Regions from separate parts of the Homo sapiens genome. Here regions 1, 2, 3, 5, 6 and 7 are each linked to region 4. The links are contacts of gene promoters, found by promoter capture Hi-C in blood cells and fetal thymus (Javierre and others, 2016). All regions are on one chromosome and are shown on one strand. The core of a region is centred on a gene start or on the middle of the fragment in contact, and the rest is flanking DNA. Distances in the headings are between cores, read along the strand shown.

Region 1 (2,700 bases), core at 57-2,556, 710 kb after region 4:
GCCAGAATGGTCTCAATCTCTTGACCTTGTGATCTGCCCACCTCAGCCTTCCAAAGTGCTGGGATTACAGGCGTGAGCTACTGCGCCCAGCTGATTTTCCAGTCTTTGTACAGGACCTGGTTTTGTTTTTTTGTTTTTTCCCTCTTTGGGAGCTTTTGTGATTAGTTCATCCCTGGTATTCTGAAATTTGATGATGATGTCATTGTGTTGGACTGTTTCTTTCTAAAAATTCATGTGCTTTAGTTCTGGGTAATTTTCTTAGATTTTTCTTTGGTCATTTATTCTTCTGTGTTTTCTCATTTTGCTCTTTTTTTTTTTTTCTTTAATTCTAAAGGTCCGCAAACTGATTCAGAGGCTATGTCTGGCCTCTGTCTATCCCATTTGCTTACACATTTCTTTGGCTGCTTTCACACGGTAACAGCAGAGTTAAGTAGTTGCAACAGAGACTGTATGGCCTACAAAGCTTGAGCTATTTACTGTCTGGTTCTTTGTAGAAAAAATTTGGCAGTCCCTGTTCTATTGGATGTTGGAACTCTTGGGTTGCTTGTCTGATTTTCGCTCTGTTTTCTAAAAGATTTCCTCAGGTTTCTCTTTACCTTTTTCCTTTGAATTCTTTTTTTCTGCTATTATGATATTTAGTTTACAAGAGCTTTTTCTTGTTCTCTTTTCCTTTCTTGATAGCATTTTGTCTATGGGTGTAATAGGTTTTTTTGTTTGTTTTTCTGAAATATTAAAAAGTAGATTGCTTGTCTTCTGGTGGACTTCACTTAAGGATGCTTGGGCAAGCTGGCGTTTTCCTTAGGGATACCTCCAAATATCAGTATCTGGAGGTTGTTCTTATTTAGTTTTCTGAAGAAGAATTCTCATTTTCCCCCTACGGCAGGTAGGTGCTTATCTTACAAAGTTATAGAGGCAGATTAGATAAAGACTTTTGGGCTTTATTCAGTACAGGCTTTTTAGCCCTGTACCTGGTGTTTCTGAATCTAGAGTCAGTTGCTCCAAAGAATACATCTGTGGTCCTCTTGAATTCAGAAAGGTTATTATAGCTGCAGTATAGTGATTAAATTGTGATAGAATGAAATGAATTCAAGAGATCATTAGGAAGGGTTACAGAGGTCCAAGAAAAAGATGTTAGTAGCTTAGAGATAATGGAGATGAAGGAAAACAGATTGATTTGAGATTTAGATGGAAATTTGACTTATCTCTCTATAGCTGTATTTACTGCTTGCTAATTAGATGATAGGTCTAACAAGCAGAGACTATGTCTCCACTATTTGTATATTCTGCAGCACCTGGTGCCCAGCAAGATTTGGTGTCTATTGAATGGTACTCAGCATGTTAATGATTTAATGAGATTATTATGACTTAGATTTCTTACAATCTTCACTGTTTAATCTATCATTTAAAAATCACATGATTTGGTTGAGACATTGGCTATGATCAAAGTATTTGTTTACTGATTTTTAAAATTTGCGTATATATTTACCGTATTGACCTCCATCTGGCATAAAAGATTTATGGGTGCCATTAGAGTAGTAAGATTGAAGCTATTGTTAGATGTAGGTATTTGGTGAGTTTTACTCATATCTGCTCTGAATTTTGTGTATAGATTTCTACTTTGCTAGTTAGTGTAAAAGTTATTTTGGGACAAATAACCTCATCAACAATTATAACAGATTTTCTAGATTTATCATCATTAGATTTACGTAGTAAGAGCTATATTGTCACATTCATTATGGTATCTTGATAAAAATAAGTTCTTAATTTAAATGTAGTTTAAATTATCAATCTTTTATGGTTCCTACTTTGGCGGCTTGTTCAAGAAATCCTCTCTTGGAGGATTCAAGAAGATATTTCTTTATATATTTAACTGAGTGTTTTAAATATTTTGCTTTTAACATTCAAGTCTTTAATCCATCTGGAATTGGTGGTATGAGGTAGACATCAATAAAATTTTATTTTATTCCATCTTGAAAATCACTTGTGTGTTACACTATTACCTGATTTCTGTGGTGCTACTTCTGAAGCACATTGTAATTCCAAAGATGCATGTAACTCCATATGTCTCTGATCTTTATATTCTATTCCATTTGTCAGTCTATTTCTGCACCAAATTCCACACACTGTCTTAATTATGACAGTTTTAAGATAAAGCTTGATATCTGATTGTACAATACTTCCACAGTATCCTTCCTTTTCAGGAGTGTTTTGGCTATACTTGGCTCTTTAGTCCTCCATATGAAATTCAGAATCAGCTTTTCAAAGTCCATACACAGTCTTGTTGGGAAGTTGGGAGTTGCATTGGTAGAGAAAATTGACATCTTTACAATATCTAGTTTTCCTGCCTGTGAATATGGGATATTCTTGCATTTGTATTTATCTTCTTTAATATTTGGGGATCTTTATAGTTTTTTGCGTACAGGTTGTGGTACATTGTACTTTCTAAAGATACCCACAAAAATATCCCCCATCCCACATGGCCTTCTACATTATGACCTTGCTACTCCCCCACCAATAGGTGGAGTCTAATTTCCCTTCTCTTGAATCTGGGCAGAAGTAAAGCTGCTTATTTGTTGACTTGCTAGTTTAATTTAAAACACATTGTAATTGCATTATTTTCCCCATTTTTGTCACTTACCATACAAAAGTATAAAAGGAATATTTTACAAAGCTTCATCTTCCTCAGCTCTTCTTCCCAAA
Region 2 (2,753 bases), core at 44-2,543, 760 kb after region 4:
TTCACTGTCTAATGAGGAAATTGAAACAAATCAGGATAATACAATAACGGTAAATGACATCTTTTCCTAATCTGATAAAATACTATGCAGGCCTTCTTTTCTGAGGAAAATAATCACCTTTGGGTTATAGCCAACAAGTTTGCCTCCTATAGTTGTTAATTATCAAAAATCTGACCTAATTTTTAAAGGAAAAAGCATGTTGTTGGATTCCTATAGGGAATTCTTGCCTCTGAACCTAATCTCACTCTTAAATAAGGTAAAGAAAAACTCAGTTTTTATTTTCCTTTTATAAATAGAGGTTTTATAGGCAAAATAATGGATTTAAGTTCTGAGCATATGAAATAGAGGGTTTTGGTACATATCTTCCCTCTCGGTATCATGGTAATAGGCATGATAGAAATCATAATCTATCAAAATGCAAACTTAGGGCTGTTTAGTACAGTAGGAACATAGAAATTACTTGTAACAGAAGTTACAAGGTGGAAACAGTAAAATTCTCAGGTAAAAAAAAACATAAAAGAACATAAAATTTTGATAAAATAGTTGTCAAGTATTCTAAATCACAAATGGGAAAGCTGCATTAAACTGTAAGGTTTTGAGCATTATGAATAGTGTATTTGTGAAGGCTCTTAGAATGATTTAGCAAGAATAACAAATCATTACTTTCTTTATAGTGTGGTCAATCTTCCAGCCACAGAGGAAGGCTTGGATAGTTATTGGAATCCACTGATTTCTTCACTGATTTATCTGCTTTAGATTCCTATTTCCTATTCCCATTTGAAGCCAACTATATTTAACTGTTATAGCCATATTCCACAGAGGTCACATCAGAACACTTTTATACAATCAAGAAACTACGTTATAATATTCTTTCAACTTTTCTGAAGACCTAAAGCTTTAAAAATTAATTTAAAAGGTTAATTTCTACTCAGAATTTCTCTACACAAATATTCAGAAGCTGAAGCTCAAGCTGATGCAAGAACTTCAGACCCTCTTTGAGGCTAACTGAAAAAGGGAAAAAAAGAGTTCTCATTGAAAAATAAACAGGAGTCCTACCTCTCCTGGGGCTGTATCAGTTGGGTCAGGTCCATGATGGAATTCTCTGTGCAGTTTTCCAGAATGTAAGTCAAATACGAATTGCTTGAGTTTTCCAGGAATTCTAAAACCAGAGTCAAATAAAATGTAAACTGTTAAAATGGACTTATCTCTATTTTACCAACTTCACAGTATTAAAAAAACTTTTGCTAACCTATAGTCCCACCATCCTACCACAACTATTGCAGGCCAGGTATGTGTGAAACATTTTTACACAGTTGTAAGCATAGTATCCAGATACTCAGTTTTGTATTCTAATTCCTGTACTTGTTTCATAGAAAAATTTCCATGCTTATCATTAAGGCACATTATAGTCTATCAAGATGCTGTACCCCAAATTAACCATTTTTTATTAATGGGCACTTTATATATTTTCCTAAATTACATATATGTAACTAAAAAAAAACTTTGTTCTGCAACATCACACTAAAAATAACAGGGCTCAAGGGAAAAATAGTTAGGGGCTAACCACTGAAAACTATGCAGCTTTGTAACCAAAGCACTACTGCGAACCTATAACAAAAATATTAGCACCATCCAATGTCCACCACCATTTAAACCTAGTGTCAACCAGGTGATCCTCTGCAGCCTTAACGTAAAGCTTGTGAGCCTACTTTTGAGGTTCGGGTCCTTAAGGGCCTTCACTAGACAGTGAAACCAATTTCATCAAATTAACCTGAACCAGGGCATAGCATTTTCATGTTTTTTTTCCTAAACATAGAGGCAAATGTCTTCATAATGTCTTCAAACCACACATGCAACTTCATTGGATAGCTTAATATTGTGAAAAGCAAAGCACTTCTCAAGATCATTAAACTAGCTTTTATTTACACTAACAAGGGGACTTCCCCAGGATTTTCAGTTGTTTTGTTTTGGAGATCTTCATACACCCTTGCGGCATTCTCTTTACGAAAAAGCTTATTCTGATGGCTTCAGGATATTCTGAGGATAATGATATATAAACTGACACAACTTCACTTTCTATGGACACTATTCTCTTAATTACCAATCATGTATGAGCAAATCTGCAGCACAGAAACAATGCACTGTAGCAGACACCACCATACTGAGCTAAACAAATTTATGTACCAGGCTTTCTTCTTTGTAATATTTCCTTGAGTTATATACAATAAAGTAGGATTACTGGGTTAACAAATAAGAGCTTTTGACCAAGTGTGAGCAAATTATACCTATAAAACATCAGTTGGTTTTTACTATCTGTCTACCTGTTTGTTCTTTAAAGTCTTGCCAAGCATGTCTTTTTTAAATTAAAATTGGTTTTGCTAATTTGATAAGTAAAAGATACCTGCATTTTAATTTACATTTCTTCACAAATTAAGCATTTTTTTCATTGCTTGTCTGAATTTATATCTCTGCTCATACGAATTGTCTGCCTTCTGAGATCTTGGTGCTTTAAAAAATTAATTATATATTTTAAATAGAAACACTTTTTCATTCTGTTACAAGAATTAAAATGCAGGTCCATATACACTTTAATTCCTTGGGTAGAATTGATTGACTTTTAAAATCATTATTTTTTTGGTAGCAAACAATAGCTGGCTTGTAGTTAATATTACCAGTTTCTTTTACTTTTTATCCTCTCTTGAGGTCCCGGAAGTGCTGTTTCTTCCCTTCAATAACTCCCACTGAGATGTACC
Region 3 (2,982 bases), core at 221-2,720, 610 kb after region 4:
AAATGAAATTAAAAGGTAACAGGGTAAAACTGAAACATGGGGGTTGAGAATGACTGGAAGTAAATGTTAAAAAGCAAATCTAGATGTTTGAACACAAAATAGATCATAAAGCCCAAGTTACCTGGATTTATTTTCTTTTTTTATTAATGCAGCCCAGGCTTCCCAAATAAATTTCAACTTTCTGCTCTATTTGGAGTTGTATAGATCCAGGTAATTTCTGAACAGTTTCACCCTAAGTGGTAAAAATACGTTCATTTGCACAAATGTTTTCAATTTAAAAAGCAAGCATTTGTTTAAATTTGGAGGACGAAATATGTTTATTTCTCCATGTGTCATTTCCAAATTATATGGATTCTGAAAAATACAACATCATTTTTCTATCCAACCTTAAGTTTTATGATTTTTTTTACAATATGGTTACTGTGTCTATGTCAATAGACATTTATGAAATGACCTATTAATAGGAATTTTCACTGAAAATATATGGCTGTCATATATCTTTCTTTGTCTCATTTTTCGTTTGTACCTTGGGGTTTTTTGTTTTCTTCCTTGGATATAATAATGATTTGTAATAACTACTTTTAAGATTTTGCTTTGAAAAATCAGGAATGGACTGTTTATCATATATGGTCTTTAAAGATAAAATAAGCTATACAGGCTGATTAAGTTAGTTTTTTTGCATTAAAACATTATTTCCTATATGTTTTAATTAGAAAAATCCTGATTTTGGTTTTTATGATTTCATCTCTGTTGGGTAACAAAGCCAGTTACTGTGATATTTGACTTACAATAGTGATAGCAAACAAAGTACATCCCAGATAATTTTGATTTTATTTTAATAAGGTCAGCAATAATCAGGGGAGTGGAACAAGTAGAAAATTGTTCCCAAAGGGATATTAAAAGTGGAGATAATCTAATTCTCCAAGGTATGATATGTTGACCTGGTAATTTCAGATATGATTTTATCATTCAGAGTTGGGTGTCTCCTGAGACTTGCTTTAGAACAATCCGAGATGATTTTCATTGTCAGCAGCTAACACTAATAAAATTGTTTTTCCTGCAGGCTAGCGTTTTAGGAAATTAAATTTATCGAATTATACGAATTGCACTGTCGCTTTTCACATTGTAATTAAAATACATCTTGTCAGGTCCTACCTCTTTCCAGAAACTATCAGTTGACTATCTTGTATTATATTTTCTCAGAGAACAGTGCAGAAAAATGCAAAATATGTTTGCCTGGCAAATAAAAACTGCCCAGTAGACAAGAGACGTCGAAACCGATGTCAGTACTGTCGATTTCAGAAGTGTCTCAGTGTTGGAATGGTAAAAGAAGGTATGGATATAATGCTTTTTACCCAGTTTGCTTATACATATTATCAGAAATCAGTGAAAAAAAGCTAATATTTACATTGGGATGGTGAATTTTTCTAGTTCCTTTTTCCTTTCAACATTTTATTTTTATCATATATATCTACATTTTAAAATAACTGAGGACTATTTATTCTAATTTCTCAAAATTAACAGAGGACTTGTATACATACATCTTTGTTCTATTTAAGAAGGAGACTTTTAGGGCTAATTCATTACCAAATGTAAATATCGGTGGCTTTTATGCTGCTTGTTTCAACTCTCATGAAATCATTGTGTGAATATTATTCCAAACTTATTACCACTTTTAAATGGTTGGTCTCATTAATGATTGCTCAACTGTAATGTGTTTTTATTCCTTTTTGCGATTTATGGTCGTTCATTCCATAATCTTTGAAGATTGTTTTCTTTGTCTCTTTTGGCATCAGTTGTCCGTACAGATAGTCTGAAAGGGAGGAGAGGTCGTCTGCCTTCCAAACCAAAGAGCCCATTACAACAGGAACCTTCTCAGCCCTCTCCACCTTCTCCTCCAATCTGCATGATGAATGCCCTTGTCCGAGCTTTAACAGACTCAACACCCAGAGATCTTGATTATTCCAGAGTAAGTTTTATGATTTCCTGCTTTCAAATGAATGATCAGGGTCTCTATTTATGGCTACTAGTAATAAGAGTTGATTGAATGATTTTGTGTCTGGCACCATGTTAGACAGTTTTCATACTTTTTCTATATTTCTCGCTTCATTTAGCAATTCAGTGCATCCATTGCAGCAAATAATTTTTGCCTTATTGAATCTCTAAATGCCTTAACAAGTGACCCTGACAGTGCTGCACCTGTCATACACATTGTTGCAGGATTCCTGGTGGTTGTGCCAATGAAAATCTGCACAGACAAACTACAATTTGTAGATTTATCTCGTGATCTAGACAAAGTGACTACTGTTTTTTTTCATATTGTGTTCAAACCATCTGGGTGAGCCTCAAGTTATTACTAAGCAGTTTATCCAATTGCATCAGCATTGATTGACCTGCTGCTTATTCAGAGGGATTAGACCATTGGTGGAGAGAAGCGAGCTCTGGCTGTGACATCAGTTGTCAGGAGAACTGGGATGGAACGCCACCTCTGCTACTTCCTGCCTGTGTCACCTGGTTCCTGCTTTTGGCTCTCTCCTGCCTACAGTGGAAATGGCTACAATATTTAACCTCAGAGGGGTGTTCTGAACACCAGTCACACAAGAATGATGGTTGTGAAAATGTTTTTAAGACCATAAATGACGATTGGTGTTGTTATAGTTAAGTCAACCAAAACATATCAACATTTTTATTTCATATGGGATATAGTAAAATCCCATCAGTCTGAACCCTGCAAATTCCTCAAAATTTGGATAACACAGAGAAGAACCATGAGAAAGGATTTCCTGAGCAAATGAATAAACAGCTCTGTAAGGCAATTTCTTTAAAGGACTTAGAAAACTAAACTTCTAGCAAAACAGGGTCTCAATGAAGAGGGAAGAGAAGGAAAAAAAATCACAATTATTGAGCAGTTTCTATATGCTAGACATTGTGGTACATTATCTCATTTAATCCTTTAAACCACCATGAATTGTAGGAATCATT
Region 4 (2,806 bases), core at 64-2,563:
ACTCCGTTTCAAAATAAATAAATAAATAAATAAATTTTTGCTGAAAAAGATGCCTAATAGTAGGTATGTCATAATACCAATTATGTACCAATAAGAAGATATAGATATACCTATGAAAAGACACAGGCTGGTGTCACCACAACTTCTGAAAAAATACAAGAGAAACTTAACGGTGGCTATCTTCAGGGAGTAGAATAGGACGGGGCTTTTAGGTTACATCCTTCTATACTACTAAATTTTTAATCGAGTAAATGTTACTTTTTAAAGTCATCTTTTTTAGGATGGGGAAAAATGCACGAAGGAAAGAGTCAAGAATAGCTACAGGGCAGATCCAGGTGGACATTATTTACCAAGGTAAAAAGCTTGAACTTTTCTCCAAAAACCAATGGGGAGCCATGTACAAGTTTTAATAGGGGCATGATATATTCAGCTTGGCGTTTTTAACACATGACACTGCTGAGGACGGTGTGGCCTGGCTCCGAACACAAGGACAGTGGGATGCAAATGGCCTGAAAGGAGAGTCAACAAAAATAACAGGTAAGCGGGAAGACAACACGCGAGTTACTCATTAGTAAAAGGTGACTGAAGCTGACTTCTAATACCAGCGTTTCTCAGAGCCCCAAAGACTATCTACCTCGGAATCACCCTATGACCCAGTTAAAATGCAGATGTCTGGGCCCCACCTCAGGGCACCTGGATGAAAACTTCCTGGAGGATGGAACCCCAGCAATCTGCAACTTTAAATGGGCCCACACTAAAGTTAGAGAACCACAGGCTCGCTCACAACCCTGACTTCTCCATGTCAGTTCCGATCTTTGCGAACCGCAGACAGGGAAGGTCTTCTCTCAGGGGTCATGCCCGCGGCCGCCCTCCACGGCGAGGTCCGCACTCGCGCAGCCGGCCCCGCGGCCGCCTCACCTGGTCGCACACTACCACGTCGAACTCCTCGTCGGCGAGGAACAGCACGTAGAGCGCCAGGAAAACCATGCGCACGTAGGCGCAGACGGCGGCGCCGCGGCCGCCCCAGCCCAGGCCTCGCGGCAGCCAGTCCCCGGCACAGCGCACCGGTAGCTCGCGGCTCTCGGCGAAACAGTGGCCCGGGTCGTAGTGCGCTGTCCAGATCTTCACGCTACACCCGCGCGCCTGCAGCGCCAGCGCCGCGTCCAACACCAGCCGCTCAGCGCCGCCCACGCCCAGGTCTGGGTGGAGGAACAGCACCGACGGCTTGGGAACCGAGTCCCGTTCCCGGCCCTGCTCCTCCGCCATGGCCCTGGAGCCGCAACTGCACCCCGCACCCTGATGGGGGTCTTCTGCGCAAGCTCCGCGCTCGTAGCTCCCAGCTGGCCACTGCGGGCCGACCCCGCCCTGCCGTACGTGCGTCAGTTAGGCCACATCAGCGCAAATCTGTGAGGGTCTAGTAACTGCCTGAGAAAATATCTTGTCTGACCCCGGTTATATTTTTCCTTCGGTAGGGATTGGACTTTCTGAAGGACGTTGTGATCCAAAGGAAGGAGGCCGGAGGTCTCTACTTCCCATACAGCAGGTAACTAAGTTGTCTGTAGCAGACTGTCTACAGGCATATCGTGAGACGACCCAGGCGTCCCTGGGGTCAGAGAGGACCTTGCCTGCAAGTCCGGGGGCGGGGCCTGAGTCAGTCTCGCCAGCTGCCGGTCTTTCGGGGGCTCCGTAACTTTCTATCCGTCCGCGTCAGCGCCTTGCCACCCTCATCTCCAATATGGTATGGCGGCCCTTCCATGATCCCCGCCTCTCCCAGAAGCCCTGACTCCTCCTGCTTTGCGCCGTGCTTTTCCTCTGTAGCTCCCTTGCTTCCCCCAGCCTCGGGTGTGGGTGTCTAGGCCGGGGTTCTGGGGCAGGCCTGCCGCGCTCACCCGTCTGTCTGCTTGTCTCCCTCTACAGCCTGGTCCGACCCCCAGTGGCACTAACGTGGGATCCTCAGGGCGCTCTCCCAGCAAAGCAGTGGCCGCCCGGGCGGCGGGATCCACTGTCCGGCAGAGGTAAGGAACCCTGCAGTTCGTTCGCTTCCAGACTCGGAGATAGGACCCAGAACCTCGCTGATTCTGGGGTGGAGACCCTAGCATGTGAAGATTGACAAAGGCAAAATGAGCTTCTAGTGACGTGGCCGTGGGAGTAGTTAAAGGCCTTTTGGGAGGAAGGCGACATTTTTTTTCTCGTTGCTCAGTTTAGGGCACTACTCTTAAAAAAGGAAAGTTAACAAACTGGAATAGAGTCAGAGATAACTTTGAGAAAACCGATGTCATTAAACTGGTGTCTCTGGACCTGAGGTTTGCACTCACATTTCCATCTGGCGGCCCCATAAGCAATCTGTCCTACAGATAACTCGTCCTACACAAAACTTAGTCTCTTTTCAGCTCAGCTCTCTCACTCTCAATTATATCTCCTTACTTCCATATGGCACTGTTGTACACTCATTTACTCAGAGCCAGAAACGTCAGCGTCATCTTGGATTTTTCTTATGCTCTTTCTCTCTCTAGTCATATGCCAGACTTTAAACTCTGCTTGAAAGCTTTCTCATAAGCTCTTTCCTTTTCCCTTTCTACTGCTTTGCATTTGCTACTTAACCCTTTTCTTCAGGCTGTTTGCTTTCCAGTCCATCGTTCGCTCTGCTGTTACTCTTCTGCGTAGTTTCTGTTACTTGTTGCTGAACTAAAAAAAACAAACAAACAAAAAAAAAAAACCGGGGGGATACCAAAGCTCTTAGTGGTCATTTCAGCCTAACCTTTCTTTTTCCTTTTTTTTTTTTTGGGATGGAATCTCACTCTGTCGC
Region 5 (2,700 bases), core at 88-2,587, 630 kb after region 4:
TGTAGGTCATGGTTTCTCTGCCTCTGGTGATGAGTGGTGAGATGATGTCTTGTGCTTTTGGGAAAGTTAAATGATTTTCAGGGATAAAACTAATTCTATGTGATATTTACCTTCTGGCTTGATGTGATGACCTAACCTCAGAGCAAAACGCTTTTCCTGTACAGAAATAGGGGAAATAAGATTGGAAAGATAGTTTTGAACCAGATGGCAGAGGGAATCTCAAGTGCTCAAATGCCATTTTGTTGTTCCCCATGGCTTTCTTTTCCCTACTCAGGTCATCTCTCAGGTGAGAAAATGACTCCTTTCTCGTCTGACTCTAGTCTTTTTCCTGGTCTTATTGAAACACGACCTCTAAGACTGAGAAGGAGGAAGGAGGGCAGAACCATGGCAGAAAGTAGTGAAACAGTGACACAGCAGGACTAGACAGGTGGCTGACCACGGCACACCCTCCACCATCTGTCTTTCCAGAGCTCCACTGCTCACTGTAAATGGTTACCTGGTTACCCCTGCTTTTGCATCAGATAAAGCCATCAGCTACATTGCAAGGAAAACTAAATATCAAACTTAGCGGGGCAAAATAGTTAAAAACAAAAATGGTGGGAGAGGGGAGAGGCCACAGGATTTAGAGACCGGAGATCTGAGTTCAGGTCTTCACCCTGAAATGTGCTGTCTTTGCAATCTTGGACAAGTTCCTTACCCTCTCTGAATCTCAATTTCCTTCCTTCTCACAGGGTTAAAGATGTCTACTTTCAGGTTTCTTATAAAAATTGAATGAACTAATATGTACTATGCAGAAAAAAAATTAGACAAACCTTCACTGTTATTATTTGTTTTACACACTTCCATGAAGAGCCAGCTGTCTTGCTAAGAATCCATAAAAGTGTTCATGCATCCCTGCAACTGAATATACACATTGTGTTAGGGAATTTCTTTTTTTTTTTTTTTTTTTATTATACTCTAAGTTTTAGGGTACATGTGCACATTGTGCAGGTTAGTTACATATGTATACATGTGCCATGCTGGTGCGCTGCACCCACTAATGTGTCATCTAGCATTAGGTATATCTCCCAATGCTATCCCTCCCCCCTCCCCCGACCCCACCACAGTCCCCAGAGTGTGATATTCCCCTTCCTGTGTCCATGTGATCTCATTGTTCAATTCCCACCTATGAGTGAGAATATGCGGTGTTTGGTTTTTTGTTCTTGCGATAGTTTACTGAGAATGATGGTTTCCAATTTCATCCATGTCCCTACAAAGGATATGAACTCATCATTTTTTATGGCTGCATAGTATTCCATGGTGTATATGTGCCACATTTTCTTAATCCAGTCTATCATTGTTGGACATTTGGGTTGGTTCCAAGTCTTTGCTATTGTGAATAGTGCCGCAATAAACATACGTGTGCATGTGTCTTTATAGCAGCATGATTTATACTCATTTGGGTATATACCCAGTAATGGGATGGCTGGGTCAAATGGTATTTCTAGTTCTAGATCCCTGAGGAATCGCCACACTGACTTCCACAATGGTTGAACTAGTTTACAGTCCCACCAACAGTGTAAAAGTGTTCCTATTTCTCCGCATCCTCTCCAGCACCTGTTGTTTCCTGACTTTTTAATGATTGCCATTCTAACTGGTGTGAGATGATATCTCATAGTGGTTTTGATTTGCATTTCTCTGATGGCCAGTGATGATGAGCATTTCTTCATGTGTTTTTTGGCTGCATAAATGTCTTCTTTTGAGAAGTGTCTGTTCATGTCCTTCGCCCACTTTTTGATGGGGTTGTTTGTTTTTTTCTTGTAAATTTGTTTGAGTTCATTGTAGATTCTGGATATTAGCCCTTTGTCAGATGAGTAGGTTGCGAAAATTTTCTCCCATGTTGTAGGTTGCCTGTTCACTCTGATGGTAGTTTCTTTTGCTGTGCAGAAGCTCTTTAGTTTAATTAGATCCCATTTGTCAATTTTGTCTTTTGTTGCCATTGCTTTTGGTGTTTTGGACATGAAGTCCTTGCCCACGCCTATGTCCTGAATGGTAATGCCTAGGTTTTCTTCTAGGGTTTTTATGGTTTTAGGTTTAACGTTTAAATCTTTAATCCATCTTGAATTGATTTTTGTATAAGGTGTAAGGAAGAGATCCAGTTTCAGCTTTCTACATATGGCTAGCCAGTTTTCCCAGCACCATTTATTAAATAGGGAATCCTTTCCCCATTGCTTGTTTTTCTCAGGTTTGTCAAAGATCAGATAGTTGTAGATATGCGGCATTATTTCTGAGGGCTCTGTTCTGTTCCATTGATCTATATCTCTGTTTTGGTACCAGTACCATGCTGTTTTGGTTACTGTAGCCTTGTAGTATAGTTTGAAGTCAGGTAGTGTGATGCCTCCAGCTTTGTTCTTTTGTCTTAGGATTGACTTGGCAATGCGGGCTCTTTTTTGGTTCCACATGAACTTTAAAGTAGTTTTTTCCAATTCTGTGAAGAAAGTCATTGGTAGCTTGATGGGGATGGCATTGAATCTGTAAATTACCTTGGGCAGTATGGCCATTTTCACGATATTGATTCTTCCTACCCATGAGCATGGAATGTTCTTCCATTTGTTTGTGTCCTCTTTTAGTTCCTTGAGCAGTGGTTTGTAGTTCTCCTTGAAGAGGTCCTTCACATCCCTTGTAAGTTGGATTCCTAGGTATTTTATTCTCTTTGAAGCA
Region 6 (2,700 bases), core at 43-2,542, 690 kb after region 4:
AGTCCCTTGTTGGATGACTAGTTGGCAAATATTTTCTCCCTTTATACAGGTTGTGTCTTTGTTGATTGTTTTAAAGAAATAATTATAGGCAGCAGTATGGATTTATGTGTAAGCAGGGTAATTACACTGTAGTTTATAATAGTGGAAAATTAGAAACAACCTAAATAGCCAATAATAGCCAATTTGTAAAATTGTGAAGCATCTACGTAATTATAGAAAATTATTTACATGGAAACATTTTTATTATACTTCATCACACTATTCAAAATAAATGTTTTATTTTCTTTGTTCTTTCATCCACCCATTTATTCTATCCGTTAACAGTTTATTCTATTCATTGCTCCTTGCTATTCCACTCCTTTGGGTTTATTTTCTTTATTGTTGAAATATTCCTTTAAGTACTTTTAATGAGGGGCTTGGTAATAAACTCTCTTAGTCCTTGTATGTCTGAAAATGATTATTTTGCTTTCATTTTAAATGATAATTTACCTGGGAATATACCAACTCTCTCAGCACTTTGAAGGTATTTCTGTCTTTTAATATCTTGCTTTTAAAAGCAATATATTATTGCTTTGTCAGTCTTTTATGTCTCATTTTTTTAATGATTCTTGTTCTTTAATGTTTTGCAATTTCCCTTCCATGTATTTAGGCAAATTTGGTTTCTTTTTAATGTATGCTACTTGAGGCTGATGTGCTTTTTCAGTTTGAGGTCTTACATTTTAATTATCAGTATATTCTCTTTGAATAATTCCTTCTTACTGTTTTCTTTGTTCTTTCTTTCTGGGACTTCTACTTGTTATTAAGCTTCTGATTTTATCCTTTATGTCTTTTATCTTCTTTTTTATACTTTTCATCTTTTTATTCCTCTGTGTTCTGAGTGATTTCTTCCAATCAATAATTGTTTCTTATCTATATAATTTACTGTTTAACACATCTTTTGAGATTTTCATTTCTAGAAGTTTTACTTGTTTTATATTCAGGCTGGCCTCTTACTGTTTCATAATATCTATTTTTTTAAAAGATTCTGTTCCTTTTTGGAATAGAATGTTTTTGGATATTTAAAAATATACTTACTTTAGTTTCTTTTTAAAATTATTTTATTATCTTTCGTCCATTAGGTATGAATTTTCCTGTTTTGTTGGGTCTGTGGATGGTCTCTTTTGGTAATGAATTTCTCCATATGTCCCCAGTTTCCATTCACTGTTGCACCTGTTTTACCCTCTTTGTTTTTGTACCTGGAGATTTTCCTTTTTGACTTTTGAGCCTTGTATCAAACATAAAAACCAAGTTACTAATGGGTAGGTATTGGAGGCAGTCTATATAACCAACACATCAAGATTTTCAACTGTGAAAGAAAGGGGATAAATATTTAATGTTTTGGGGATGATAGATCTCTGAGAATCCCTTGAAACAATGGACTCTATTCTCCAAAATAAACTATATTCACTTTTTTTTTCTTTTTTTTTTTTTGTAGAGATGGGATTTTGGCATGTTGCCCAGGCTGGCCATGAACTCCTGGGCTCAAGTGGTCCTCCCGCCTTGGCCTCCCAAAGTGCTGGTATTACAGACATGAGCCACCGTACCCGGCCCCTTCATTCACAATTTTTCATAAAGATTCAGTGGCTCCACAAAGTCTGTATGTGAATTCCTATCTTTATAGACCCTGGACTAAGACAGCATAACTCAGCAGTATTAACATACTCAACTTAAAATTTTTTAAACATGGGTGAGGTTGTGGCTAATGAAATGGCATGAAAGCATGGTGTACAATGGTGGCTTTCAAGCTTGGTTAAGCTGTGAAGCCCATTATTTATATAAGCTCTGATAAGCTCCAATTCATAAAATAGTTGTAAGTAAAGTTTCTACAACTGAAGTAGGGAGTGGAGTCCTGGAACCTACTCACCTCTAGCCCCTACGCTTGTACTCTGGCCCCAAATGCATACCCTTGGACTTTCTGGAACACTAGTAGGAAACTACTGGTGAAGTGGAAAAAGTATTTCAATGTAATTTCAGAAAATCTGGGTTCTTATTCCAGCTCTGTCACTGGTTTTTTGAATCAGTTGTAGGCAATACTAATCACTTTATTGAAAATGGAAGAGGCAGTTTAAAGCACATCAATGAGAAAAGTTGCATATTATGTTATCATATATTTGAAGTTGTGTAATTACAAAGTTACATTATGATGACATTAGACATGAAGTTTGATACAAGCATCAGTGTTAAGCCATTTGATACCTTTTTTAAAAAGGTTATTCAATGTCCAAGATAGATCAGAAAATGAAAACTTGGACAGTATACTCCTAGCTTTTTTAAAAGTATTTATATACATACATACCTACTTACATAGAAAAAGACCTGGAGAGACGTATGCCAAAATGTAAAGAGTACATTTTGTACTCTTTGTAAAAGGTGAGGAGATGACTGCTGACTTTATTTAATTCTTCATTTATTTATATTGTCTGAACATTCTAAAATATAATTTTTGTAAAGAGAAAAAGATTTAAAAATCAGTGGTTTCATAAAGAAAAAAACAAGTCACTCAAGGTCAGCATTAGAAATATTCTATTTATTGATTTAGAATAAATTGTAAAACTAATCGTTGGCTTTTAAAAATAGTGGAAACAGATTTGAAAACATTCTTAAAGAAATATTTTTCTTTTAGGTTTTTCTATATGAGTGGAGAAGACAGCTGTTACCAGG
Region 7 (2,885 bases), core at 225-2,724, 650 kb after region 4:
TTGGAAGGAATCAGCCTTGAGGATTTTACGGAGCAGAGCAACCCTATCTGAGCTGGATTGCACGTAAGTAGGCTTTTCATGAGAAAAAAAATAAACTCCTTGTTAAACCACTGTTATTTTGAGTTTTTCCATTACTCAAAGCTGAATTGTATCCCAGCTGAGACACACAGTATGCAAGAAACATGGTTCATCTACAGCATAGGTGAAAAAATAGTCAGGAGTATCAAGGATAGTGACTCAGCGTGAATCACTCATGTTTTGAGGCTACCAAAAAAAGCCAAAGACATCTTAGGTCACAATTATTTGTTTATTTATTCATCCTTTGATTCATTCAACCTTAAACTAGGCCCTGTGTTTCGGCTTCCTCATAGTCTCATAGACCCAATGATGCCTGCCCTCTCAAGGTCTTAATTCTTTCTATTGTGTAGTTTTTCTCTTACTGCCTTCTAATTTCACCTTCACCCCTAACCACCTCATCTAGTATTTTCCAATTTCTATTCCTGAGAAAGAAAATCTGACTGATCTGGCTCAATTTGTCATGCGAGGCCACATTACAGATGCCTGGACAATCTGAGGAGTAGCTGTCCTTGGGTAGTCCCTGATCCAGTCAGCTGTGGTCCTTCAGAAAATATTGTGACTTGAATAGTTTCACTCTGGAGGGACTGAGAATAAAAGGGCTCTATGACTATCAAGTCTGGTATAGGAGGAAGCTTGACTTGACTCATGGGGCCAATTGCAGGGGGCAGGTTTGGTAGAATCATTCCTTCTTGATTCCCTTACTGCCTAGCACAATATTTGGTTCACTGGAAACCCTTAGAAAATGCTTGCTGAGTGAATTCAAGTTAGATATTCGTTGATGGGAGTAGGAGCTGGAAAACATGTCAAATTCCCAAGAAATAGATGATGTCATAATTTCCAAAATTGGTATCCAGAGCCAAAGAATCAAGTTTCATCTTTTTCTCAACTTTAATGTAAAAGAAAGGGGGGTGGGGCGGAGAGAGAGAGAGAAAATCAACACAACCCCAAGGAAGGTTTGTTTTTTTCCTTTCCTTCGGAAAGCAGCTGTCAGTTTAACTTATCCCAAAATACTGTCAGTGATGAGCATGACTGAAAATGCGTTTTATCTGTAATTAGAGAGATTACATTAAACACTATTATTTGCAGACACACATTGAATTAACCCTAATCGAGGCTAGCAAATAGTAGAGCCTGCCTATTTTTCCCCTCAAAATTTTTAGAAAATTGTGACAGTTGACACACAAGGGACAATGCTGACAAGATTTCTTTCCATCAAATGCCAGACAGTAATTGTAATTGCCTTTAAAAATGTTTTAAGCAGTTTCGTTAGTAAATCAGAAGTTGCCACAAATCATGCTGATAGTTTCTAAACATGGGGGTTGTTGACTGTGCATTCCAATATGAGTTTAATGAATTGATTTTCTGAGGAATTTAACTTTGCATCTGTTTTCAGGTATAATTAATTCACTCTGATTAATGTGATTAGCATAGATATCAGTGGATTACACATGATACCCTTTATTTATTCACTTATTTTTAATCTGCCATACTGTCCATTGGGAAATGATAGAAGTGATTTTTGGGAAAACATCTTGCTGGTGGCTCTGATCACATTGGATTTCTGCAAAGCAGAATCCTGGAAGGAATTCACTGATTATTCACAGCCTGTGCAGCAATGTACTTTTGTTTGAGGGACTTATTAAAGTTTACACAGTCCCTGCCTTTAAGGAGCTTATAATCCAGAGGAGAAGATGAGACAAACATTCCAATGCAAGTCACTCACAAGGAAGAATGACTGTCCTCAGATTCTTCATTCTCTCAGGACCCCTCCCCAACTCTCTTAAAATAATGCTATTATCTAGGGTAAACTAATGCTTCCCATTCTCCTGAGCAGTCTTATTCATGGCTCCAATTACCACTCCCAAATCTGTATCTCCGACTCAGTCCTGTCTTCTGAGCTCCAGACCTCAAGGCTCCAGATGCCTCCAGATACCTTCACCTGGATATCCCAAAAGTACTTCAAATTAAACACACCAGACCCAAATTCATGACCTCCTTCCAAACTTGCTCTTCCATTTGTTTCCCCAATCTCTGTAAATGGCTCTTCCATCCAATCATCCAGGCTAAACTACTACTATGAGTCTCAGGACAGAAAGGCCATTTATTTATTAAGTCCTCAAACTTCAATGTTCATCTTTAATGTTCATTGGAATCATCTGAAAAGCTTGTTATTATTATAATTATTTTGAGACGGAGTCTCACTCCATTGCCAGGCTGGGGTGCAGTGCTGCGATCTCAGCTCACTGCAACCTCTGCCTCCTGGGTTCAAGCAATTCTCCTGCCTCAGCCTCCCAAGTAGCTGGGACTACAGGCGTGCACCACCCACTCCCAGCTAATTTTTGTATTTTTAGTAGAGATGGGGTTTCACCATGTTGGCCAGGATGGTCTTGATCTCTTGACCTTGTGATCAGCCCACCTCGGTCTCCCAAAGTGCTCGGATCACATGTGAAAAGCTTATTAAAACAGTTTCTTGATATTCGTGACCAGAGATTCTGATTTGGTTGCCTGAAGTGGAGTCCATGAATTTGTTGGGAAGGGGACCACATTTGGAGAACCATTACCCTAGAGAATGTAAAGACTGAAGGCACATTTCCATAAACCACTGTATTAGTCTGTTTTCACACTGCTATAAAGAATCATCTGAGACTGGGTAATTTATGAAGAAAAGAGGTTTAATTGACTTACAGTTCTGCAGGCTTCACAGGAAGCATGGTTAAGCCTCAGGAAACTTACAATCATGGCAGAAGGCAAAGGGGAAGCAAGCACATCTTTACCATGGCGGAGCAGGAGAGAGAGCGAGAAGGGGG

Evidence for each region. Contacts are between HindIII fragments. The CHiCAGO score rates a contact against its expected background, and 5 or more counts as called.
Region 1: a contact is called between a fragment that was not itself captured here and the fragment with the promoter of ALG2 in region 4, in 2 of 17 cell types (M2 macrophages and M1 macrophages). The highest score is 6.8, in M2 macrophages.
Region 2: a contact is called between a fragment that was not itself captured here and the fragment with the promoter of ALG2 in region 4, in 2 of 17 cell types (M2 macrophages and M1 macrophages). The highest score is 7.1, in M2 macrophages.
Region 3: a contact is called between a fragment that was not itself captured here and the fragment with the promoter of ALG2 in region 4, in 2 of 17 cell types (fetal thymus and M2 macrophages). The highest score is 7.2, in fetal thymus.
Region 5: a contact is called between a fragment that was not itself captured here and the fragment with the promoter of ALG2 in region 4, in 2 of 17 cell types (M2 macrophages and total B cells). The highest score is 6.8, in M2 macrophages.
Region 6: a contact is called between a fragment that was not itself captured here and the fragment with the promoter of ALG2 in region 4, in 4 of 17 cell types (fetal thymus, monocytes, naive B cells and 1 more). The highest score is 7.5, in fetal thymus.
Region 7: a contact is called between a fragment that was not itself captured here and the fragment with the promoter of ALG2 in region 4, in 1 of 17 cell types (M1 macrophages). The highest score is 5.2, in M1 macrophages.

Annotation. Positions count from the first base shown.
Region 1 is chr9:99,931,187-99,933,886 of GRCh38, forward strand. All of the region lies in intron 3 of STX17 (syntaxin 17), which reads left to right. Among named protein-coding and RNA genes, the nearest start is that of STX17, 26 kb to the left of the region's middle. The HindIII fragment of the contact is 1,691 bases long and covers 462-2,152 here.
Region 2 is chr9:99,983,911-99,986,663 of GRCh38, forward strand. ERP44 (endoplasmic reticulum protein 44) reads right to left here. Exons shown (of 12, transcript NM_015051.3): 11 at 1,057-1,159. Among named protein-coding and RNA genes, the nearest start is that of STX17, 79 kb to the left of the region's middle. The HindIII fragment of the contact is 801 bases long and covers 894-1,694 here.
Region 3 is chr9:99,831,486-99,834,467 of GRCh38, forward strand. NR4A3 (nuclear receptor subfamily 4 group A member 3) reads left to right here. Exons shown (of 8, transcript NM_006981.4): 4 at 1,204-1,333; 5 at 1,797-1,969. Among named protein-coding and RNA genes, the nearest start is that of NR4A3, 11 kb to the left of the region's middle. RefSeq lists an enhancer at 1,491-2,690. The HindIII fragment of the contact is 3,351 bases long and covers 1-2,982 here.
Region 4 is chr9:99,220,629-99,223,434 of GRCh38, forward strand. It overlaps ALG2 (ALG2 alpha-1,3/1,6-mannosyltransferase), which reads right to left and starts at 1,314. Exons shown (of 2, transcript NM_033087.4): 1 at 919-1,314. The coding sequence starts at 1,266. SEC61B (SEC61 translocon subunit beta) reads left to right here and starts at 1,654. Exons shown (of 4, transcript NM_006808.3): 1 at 1,654-1,738; 2 at 1,918-2,015. The coding sequence starts at 1,736. RefSeq lists an enhancer at 1,404-1,723. The HindIII fragment of the contact is 2,183 bases long and covers 361-2,543 here.
Region 5 is chr9:99,852,392-99,855,091 of GRCh38, forward strand. All of the region lies in intron 7 of NR4A3 (nuclear receptor subfamily 4 group A member 3), which reads left to right. Among named protein-coding and RNA genes, the nearest start is that of NR4A3, 32 kb to the left of the region's middle. The HindIII fragment of the contact is 4,775 bases long and covers 1-2,700 here.
Region 6 is chr9:99,912,516-99,915,215 of GRCh38, forward strand. It overlaps STX17 (syntaxin 17), which reads left to right. Exons shown (of 8, transcript NM_017919.3): 2 at 2,663-2,700. Among named protein-coding and RNA genes, the nearest start is that of STX17, 7.2 kb to the left of the region's middle. The HindIII fragment of the contact is 980 bases long and covers 803-1,782 here.
Region 7 is chr9:99,873,470-99,876,354 of GRCh38, forward strand. No RefSeq gene overlaps it. Among named protein-coding and RNA genes, the nearest start is that of STX17-DT, 32 kb to the right of the region's middle. The HindIII fragment of the contact is 1,532 bases long and covers 709-2,240 here.